Linked DNA regions of Homo sapiens: regions 1 and 2 are each linked to region 3. The links are contacts of gene promoters, found by promoter capture Hi-C in human tissues and cell types (Jung and others, 2019). All regions are on one chromosome and are shown on one strand. The core of a region is centred on a gene start or on the middle of the fragment in contact, and the rest is flanking DNA. Distances in the headings are between cores, read along the strand shown. Region 1 overlaps SLC24A2 (solute carrier family 24 member 2). Region 2 has its middle 53 kb from the start of SLC24A2. Region 3 holds the start of SLC24A2 (solute carrier family 24 member 2).

Region 1 (2,727 bases), core at 41-2,540, 34 kb before region 3:
AGGGGATGAGACCCACAAGCACTTTCTGGCTCCAAAAATTGGCATCTGGCAGCATCTCCTTCCACCTGCATCAAACTCCAAGCTTCTTTTAGAGAACCAAGCAGTATTTTTAGCAGCAAAGGTATGAAAATGACTGATTACATATTTGAACATGGATACAAAAAAGCACACTTAAAAAAAATTTTAAAAACTCCTATCCTTTCCACAACATTAACAATTTAAACTACACTATGAAGGTAAAAAAGCTTACTACTCAGCTTTCACCAAGGTAAGCCACTGAATGAATTCCTCAGAGATTCTGTCAAAGGAGCCACATCCTCAGTGGCAGGGTAGAAGAAAGGATCCGCCTGCAGCCACAGGCCCTGCCCCACTCATTGCCTCCCCAGGACTACAGTCCACTCTTCTAAGAGCCAGTCTCTTCCTGAAGCCACCCGTCTATCCTCCTTCCCCAAGGCATGAAGAGCGTAGGACTTGGAGCATGACAATCTCATGACAGCCTGGCCAGCCCTATTTCTCACTGTGTGAACTTAAGCACTTCAACTGAACCTTTGAGCCTTGAATTCTTCAATGACAGCGGGACTGGTGCCCAGTGTCTATTCCACTTTCCTTCTAGCATGCCTTCCTGATCTGCAGAGGCTTGGAAATCTGACAGTACAGATGCCCTTGCAGCTGGGTGCAGGGTTTATTTAGGTTCAGCCAATCAGACACTCTCAAGCTGGATTTAGAAGGTGAAAGTCAGGTTAGAGGCTGTGTTTCTGCTCTTTCTCCTGGAAATCATGGGAGGATTTTTTTTTTTTTTTTAATAACCTGTGGTGTTTTGTAACTAGGATCCTAAGCACTGAATGGCAGGGCCCTGGTGGTGGTATGTGCCAAAATGCAACTCCAAGCTTCTTTTAGAGAACCAAAACTGTGCCAAAATGCACAGTTCCAGTGGCAGCATCCCGATTCCTCTCCTGCTCGACAGGCAGAAGCAGCTCTCTTCAGGCAGACCAGTTTTACAGTGAGGTCCGAGACATAGCACACTGAGACCTAGCCTGCTCCACAGGCCTTTCAATGATTTTATAAGCATCCAATTCCTACATTAAAACCTGATCTCTCTTTAAAATAATAAGATGGTTTCTATTTTCTGCAACCGAGCCTAGACTGATATACCTCTCTAACCTTCTGAGCAGGTATAAAGACTGAAAGATGAAAGGCAGGCAAGAGAGCACAGCAGTTAAGAACATAAGCTCTGAGCTCAGATGGCCTGGGCTTAAATCCTGGTCCCGCCTCTAGCTTGATTTGCAACCAGGGGCAAGTTCCTTAATCTCCAGTTTTTACATGATGGGGATACTACAGGATTACATAAGATAATACATGTAGAATCCTTGCCAAGTACTTGGTCCCTAGTAGGAATTCAATACATGTTAGTTTTTTCTTGTCCTAAGTTCTCATAGGACCCTCTGTACACTTCTATTATTGCAGTTATCCCATTGATCAATTCTCTGTGAGCACAAACCCAGAGGACTGTTTATCACATATAAGTAAAAAGTAGAACACCCCAAATTCTAATCCACGTGACTTGGGAGCAACCTTGAAGAACTGAAAAAAATAATTGAAACTTATTAAGTGAAAACATAATTGTATCTACCGTACTGTGTTACGGAAATAGTGTGAAACAGGTGGCCGGGTGTGGAAGTATGACAAAGAGGGGAAATTACAGCAAGAGTTGGCCAGGCCTGTCCAACGGTGCTGAAGGATAGAGGAAATCTTGGCTGGGCAAATGCTCCATTTTCCTCAGTAAGGTCATCCCTGCTGTGGGTCAGAGTCTATCAAGCTATTTTAGCAAAGCAACACTTCTTAAGTCCACTACGATGCCATAATCTGGCTCCTTAGTTTGTTATCTGTAGACAGCCAACGTGCTAGTCAGAACAGTCAACTTCACAGTTTAATTCCTAATCGTAAATTAATAGATTGTCACCTGGTTATTATAATTTTACTCACCTACAGTCAGATACGGCACTGATTTTACCTTTCCATTTGGTTTTAGCGATGTAGCTCTCATTGTATTACAATGGGCTGTAATTGGATTTGTATTAATATATAGCAGTCATAATGAGCTTGGTTCACATAAGTCCACCTAGGAGAGACAATCCCTTTGCAGTGAGCTATCATGATCAGGTTTATGATTCCACTGGGCTGAGGGCCAGGTTCCTGACCATGGCAAATTCACCAAGTTACCTGCTACCTGCTAACTGCTTTGAGTGCCCTGTGTGTCCAGCAATAACCTTCAAATTTGAGCACTGAAACTGTATACAATGATCTGCTTTCATGTCTGTGAAATGACCATTCCTAAATCAGATTTTACCTCCAAATGCCCAGCCAGGCACATACATAGTTGATATATAATAAATATTTGATGAATGAATCCATAAACAAATGGATGTGCCCTTCTGCAGAGGAGTTTTAAAAAAACTATAGAAATGGCAAGAAAGAAAATAAATCCAAAGGGACTCTGAGAAGAAGAGAATCATAGGCTTAAATATTTTGTGGTGATTCTTTGCAAATATTCAAAGCTTAGCTATTGATATTCTAACATTTTTGGACAGCTTTTTATATAATGCTGTTATCATGAGTGTATTAATTTTCTATTGCTGCTCTAACACATTACCACAAAATTTGATGCTGACAACAATATTTATATATTATCCTACAGTTTCTGTTGTCAGAAGTCCAGGCCCAGCATGG
Region 2 (2,946 bases), core at 312-2,811, 53 kb after region 3:
TTCTTTAAAAGTAATGGAGGTAAACACTACTATTTCCCTAGGTAGCCTCTTTCAACAATTTACGATCCTTATAACTGCGACTCTTTCTAGAATTAAACCAGTACCCAGGCTTGAACAGCAGTAGTCATAATGAGAAATAACAGGATTAGAAAACCCACACTAAAAATGGAAAGAGGAACTACAGGCCTCTTAATTCGAAATGTTTGAGGAGAGACTTAATACTTCCCAATTTCCCTATTCAGCTATACAGGAGCTTTTCCTGGGCCCTTAGCTAATCTCTTTTATGACTTGATTTCTGGGGAATGACCTTGAATTTTTCTTCTGGTTTAATGAACAGATATTCATCAAATTGGGATTACAGATTGTTTTGTAACTTTATATTTATTTTGCATTTAAATTGGTATCCAGTTTTTCATTGAGGTAAAATTTACATAGGATGAAATGTATTTATTTTAAGTGTGTCATTCAATGAGTTTTGACAAGCGCATATTTCTGTGTGACCTCCACCCCAATCAAGCATACAACATTTCTATCACCCTAGAAGGTACCCTTGAGCTCCCTTCCCCTCTCTCTGATTTTTATCATCTTAACGTTAGTTTTACCAGTTACAGAACTTTATAGAAAGGGAGTCATACAGCATTTACCTTTAAACTGGCTTCTTTTGCTCAACATTTTTTTAAAGAATTATCCATGTTGCTGTGTGTATCAGGAGTTAATTCCTTTTTATTGATGAGTAATTTTCCATTGTACATAAGGGAATATATATCAATCTTCCTGTTGATGAACAGCTGGATGGTTTATAGTTTTTTTTTATGAACCATAGACTTTTCAATCACCATTGGCTTAAATGAACACAAAGAACATCTAAGTTTTCTATAACCACTCAATAAACACGTATTTATTAAGAGCTTACTCTGAGCCAGGCATTATTTTAAATGCTGAGGATGCAAAAATGAACAAAAAAGCATCTCTGTTTTTGTGGAGATTGTTTTCTGGAGAAGAGACTAAAAATAAGTAAGACAGATATAACATTATATGTCAATAAGTGTTATGGAGTAAAATAAGGCAGAGAAGGGGAATAGGGAGTGTGAGGTGTCCAGGGATGCCATCACTAAGGGGATGGCATTTGGGCAAAGACCTGAAGGAGATGAGGGGCAAGTCATCTGGATATCTGGGAAAGAAGCATCCTTGGTAAAAGAAGAGCAAGGTGAAACCCTTCAGGCAGACACATACCTGGTCTTTTCAATGTGCATAGGTGAAGTGCCCCTCAAAGGGATTGGTAGATGATGGGTTAGGGGAGGGCATAATGTGCTAGGTAGGATGACATGCCAGTTATCAATTTATTACCTCTCAGCTCTTAATTCACCTTTTTGGCCTGTTCTTTGAAATTGGATCTGTGCCCTTTAAATAGTTTTTCCTTGCCAGGTCACACTGAAGCTTTGTCAAGTGAGGACACTGAATAGGATTGGAATATTGGTAACAAGGAAGTCTGGGGAAGAGGTATATGGCTGGATCTCTCTGAATGGACACAGACTGCAGATATTTGTACCCAATATCAATGCTCATCAACAGGCATCCATTGCAGAGGAGACTCTTAATAATCAGGGGGGCATAATTATTCATTCTGTGGATATCAGTAACACCAGCCACCCTAGTGCTTATTGGGCCCATGAATAAAGTGTCTATGGTGGCAGGGATGGAGGCTAAGCATGGGCTTAACAGCATGAACTTCTCCTTATGAAGAATTATCTGTCTAATATTACTGTTGAGTATCCAATCTGCCAACAGCAGATACCAAGATGGAATCCTGGATATGCCACCATTCCCTGTGGGAACTGACCAGTCACCTGGTGACAGATTGATTACATTAGACATCTTCTATTATGGAAGTGGCAGAGATTCATCTTCCTAGGAAGCATACATATTCTAAATAAGAATTTACATTTCCTGCTCATAATGCTTCTGTCAGCACCGCATCCAAGGACCCTCAGAATGCCCTATCCATCATCATGGATTTCTGTACAGTATTGAGTCTGATCAATAAACTAATTGTCTACAAAAGAAATGCAGCACTGGGATCATAACTGTTGAATGAACTGGTCTTACTACATACTCCATGATCCAGAAGCAGCTAGCTTAACTGAAAGGTAGAATGGCTTACTGAAGACTCAGTTATGATGTAGTTAGGAGACAACACTTGAAAAGAATGGGCTCTATTATACAGGAAACGATTTATGCTTTGAATCAGAGGTTATTATATGTTGCTGTCCCCATGGCCAGAATACATGGGTCCAGAAATCAAGGGATGAAAGTAGGAATGGCTACTCTCACAATTCCAAGTAATATCTCACTCACAGAAATTCTGCTTCTTATCCTGGCAACTTTGAGCTATACTGGTTTAGAGACCTTAGTCTCCAAGGGGGGGATGTTCCCACCAATGAACACAATGGTTCCACTAAACTGAAATATGAAACTACAACTTAGAAATTTTGAGTGCTTTATGCTACTGAACCAATAGCTGTATTGTATATATTGTGCTTTTATCTATTCTACACAGTCCTTCTATCTGACAGTCCCCCTCTAAAATTTCTGATATCTCTCCATTCTTCAAACACAGCTCAGATCACTAAGCTTCCACTAAGCTCCCAAGTTCCTGGGGATCTCTCCCTTCTATAATAAATGATTTTATACTTTATAATGTTTTTCCTAATGTTGGATTATCACTTAATTATTATGTTTTCAATGTTTAGATTTTATATCCCCCAGCTGATTGTAGGGTCATTTGAAGCCAGAACTGTGTCTTTGTACTTCTGTATATATCCCGTGGTAGTGTTTCTCAAGTGCTGGTGCCAGTCCATGAACAATGCTGTCATCTGTTTAGGGCAAAAGGGAAAAAATAAAGATATGCAGCCAGGTTTTTTTTAAAAAAGCTAATATGTTCTAGTT
Region 3 (2,831 bases), core at 137-2,636:
AAGTTTACAAAAAAAAATTCTGGTGACATGCACAAGCTGCCTTCCCTAAACATCTAGACATTGTTTTCAGCTAAATATTTTTTTTAAAAAAACAACCTTTAGTCATATTTAAAATAGGCAGCTTAGTAAGTCAAAGAACTCCCAATGCAGTGAAATAACAAGTAGGCTATTTCGAGAGACCACATGTGTATTTCATAAACAATACGCAAGTTGTAGCAATACCTCTGTCCACAAAATCTGCCCAAAATAGCCCCACCACTGACTTTAATAGGTTAGATATCCAAAGCAGAGTTTTCTTTCTCTATCCCACGGAGGAGATGGGTAAAATAGCCAGACTTGACAGCTGATATTCTGAAGAGTTCTCTTTTTAGTTTTTCTTTAAAAAGACTATTCTTTTCCATATCAACGATTTCATTTTGGAGGCAGTCGCTGAGATAATCTCAGGTGTAAAATAAGCTAATTAAACACACGCCACTTAAATACTGAGATTAGCTGGAGCTCAGGTTTTCAGAGCAAAGCAAGAGCACAAATCAACCCCGCTGAGTTGCTGCTACTCCTGAGATAACCCGACCCCATCACGGAGATTCCCAGGTGGCTGCGAACGTCAACGCTTAGCAGGAACGATTAAGCGATTCACAGCACTCAGGGGATTGTGTAAATGCCCGGCCCGGGCGACCAGCAGGGACAGATTCAACTCCCCGGGCGCAAAGTCATCTCCAGCCCGATCCTCGCTCCCCCTGAAAACCCACCGCTCGTCTCCCCGGGAGCTGCCTCCGTAGGAGAATGTTCGCCCCCAGCCGCGCCCCAACTTTGCCTTGCGTGGTCCCAAACTTTCCCTGGTGGATTAATAGGAAAATAAATCTAAAGGACAGACGCCCCACCTGTGAGCTTGGAGCTGGGTTGCATTTGGTGAGGCGCTTGGCCCGCATCCCCCTGAGTCGTTTGTAGGTGGCTGGGGAATGGAAGCGCCCCTCTGCGCGTCTCCCCCGACGGCAGGCCCTGCCCCACGCCCCCCATCCCAAGCCAAAAGCAAGGGTAGGAGAGGCGGGGGCTCCAAATCCACGCCCCGGAGCACAGAGAGTTGGCTAACTCCTAGCGGGGCCTGGGGCGCCCACATCCACGGCAGAGCCACCTGTGAGCCTGCAGAGCAGCAACGGGATGCGCGCAACCGGGATGCGGGGACGACCGCCACAGCGGCTACAGCGGCAGGCGGGGCGCAGCCGCCCGCACTTACCAGGATAAGATGGGAGGACGCGCACACGGCGGGGCCCCCGAGCGCGGCCCGCCGCTCCAGTCCGCCGGCCCTCCGCCTACCCGCTCTGAGGCCCGGGCTCTGGCTCGCACTGGCTGCCGCTCTCGCCAGCCGGGCTGGGTTCGGGAGGAGACTGAGCCGCTGTGAGCCCGGCGCTCCGAGTCTGGCGCTGCCCGGCCCCCGCCGGCCCCTCCCTCTGGGCTGTGCGCTGTGCGCTGGGAGCGGGGCCGCAGCGCGCTCAGCTCCCGAGTCCTTTGCTCCACGCCTCCTGGGCGCAGAGGCGACGCTGGCAGCCGTCTCTTAGGAGATTTCTCCGCAGTGTGGACGGGGGTCAGGATTTGCAGGCGAGCAAGGGCAGAGAGGAGAAATCGTACAGGTCGGTGACGCGCCTAATTCACAAAGCCTGAAAGTGCTGTCAACTTTGGGGTCATCTTATGCTGGGCACCGCCTCTCCAATTATCTGCAAAAAGTGATAGCAGTCGCGCTTTTCTTTAGGAGGCGATGTGATGTGTAATGGTGGAAAAGACGTTCAATGAAAAGGCACGGAGGCCTGCAGGACAGGCTGTTGGGGTCCAGGGTTTCTTGAGTGTTGGATTTGGATGCTTGGGACACTGCAGGGGCTTCAGTCTTGCAGGGTGACCTTTCATTTCATGGGTGATGAAAGTGAGACCCAAAACCCCGTGTCATTTTGAATCACTGACAGGCTTCGGCTTTTGGCCTCGGGATGTCCAGCCCAGTGCTCCTTCCTGTCCTATCTGGAAAGCAAGATCCCCTTGACCACAAGAAATAGAATCAGGCTTGTTGGGGATGAGAGACTAGAATCTGGGCCAAAGAATGGAAGACGGTGGTAAGACAAATTGGTAGTGAGGGAACCCCTTTTACCCAACCCTGTGACCACCAGCAAAGCTGCCAAGAGGTACCCAACTCGTGAAGCTCTGAAAGCTTTTCGCACATTTTCCCCTCTCCTTACCCTCCATCCTTCTGTTCTCTCCCCCATCCAAGAGGGTTTCTTCATGCCCTCCTTACAATGGGGGTAATGGGTATATCCTGAGAGCTCATGACCTCTGACTTAGAGTACAGCTCTGTAGTCAGACCTCTGGGCCTACTCATCAATAAGTAAAGGGAAGCCTAGGGAACTTAGAAATATTTTTCTTCCCCCCACCCCCCAATCAAAGCCAGGCATTCAAGACTCAACTTTTCTTTTTCTTTCTCCTTTCGAGACTGAATCTTGCTATGTTGCCCAAGCTTGTCTTGAATTCCTGGGCTCTAGCCATCCTCCAGCCTCAGACTCCCAAGTGCTTGCAGACTATAGGTGCCTGACTGAATTTTTTTATCTTTAACTTTTAATTTAGAAAATTTCAAACATATACAAATGTAAGAAAGTAGTATAATGAATCTCCATGGGGCCATAACCAGCTTGAACAATTATGAACTCATGGACAGTCATATTTCATCTATACCCCTTTTTCCTATGTCATCATTTTGAAGCAAATCCCAGAGCATCATATCATTTTATCTGTAAATATTTTCAGAAAGCAAGAAAACTATCAACTACCACTAGGGTTGTGTCAAGAAGGGG

Evidence for each region. Contacts are between HindIII fragments. The study calls those that stand out against the background at their distance.
Region 1: a contact is called between a fragment that was not itself captured here and the fragment with the promoter of SLC24A2 in region 3, in 5 of the 25 tissues and cell types used here (H1 embryonic stem cells, aorta, dorsolateral prefrontal cortex and 2 more).
Region 2: a fragment that was not itself captured here is called in contact with the fragment with the promoter of SLC24A2 in region 3 in 3 of the 25 tissues and cell types used here (bladder, dorsolateral prefrontal cortex and psoas muscle).

Annotation. Positions count from the first base shown.
Region 1 is chr9:19,753,862-19,756,588 of GRCh38, forward strand. All of the region lies in intron 2 of SLC24A2 (solute carrier family 24 member 2), which reads right to left. Among named protein-coding and RNA genes, the nearest start is that of SLC24A2, 34 kb to the right of the region's middle. The HindIII fragment of the contact is 3,016 bases long and covers 1-2,727 here.
Region 2 is chr9:19,840,215-19,843,160 of GRCh38, forward strand. It overlaps a transcript of SLC24A2 not described here. Among named protein-coding and RNA genes, the nearest start is that of SLC24A2, 53 kb to the left of the region's middle. The HindIII fragment of the contact is 5,030 bases long and covers 1-2,946 here.
Region 3 is chr9:19,787,651-19,790,481 of GRCh38, forward strand. SLC24A2 (solute carrier family 24 member 2) reads right to left here and starts at 1,387. Exons shown (of 11, transcript NM_020344.4): 1 at 1,235-1,387. LOC124902128 (a long non-coding RNA gene) reads left to right here and starts at 1,509. Exons shown (of 2, transcript XR_007061432.1): 1 at 1,509-1,628. RefSeq lists an enhancer at 303-950. The HindIII fragment of the contact is 14,556 bases long and covers 1-2,831 here.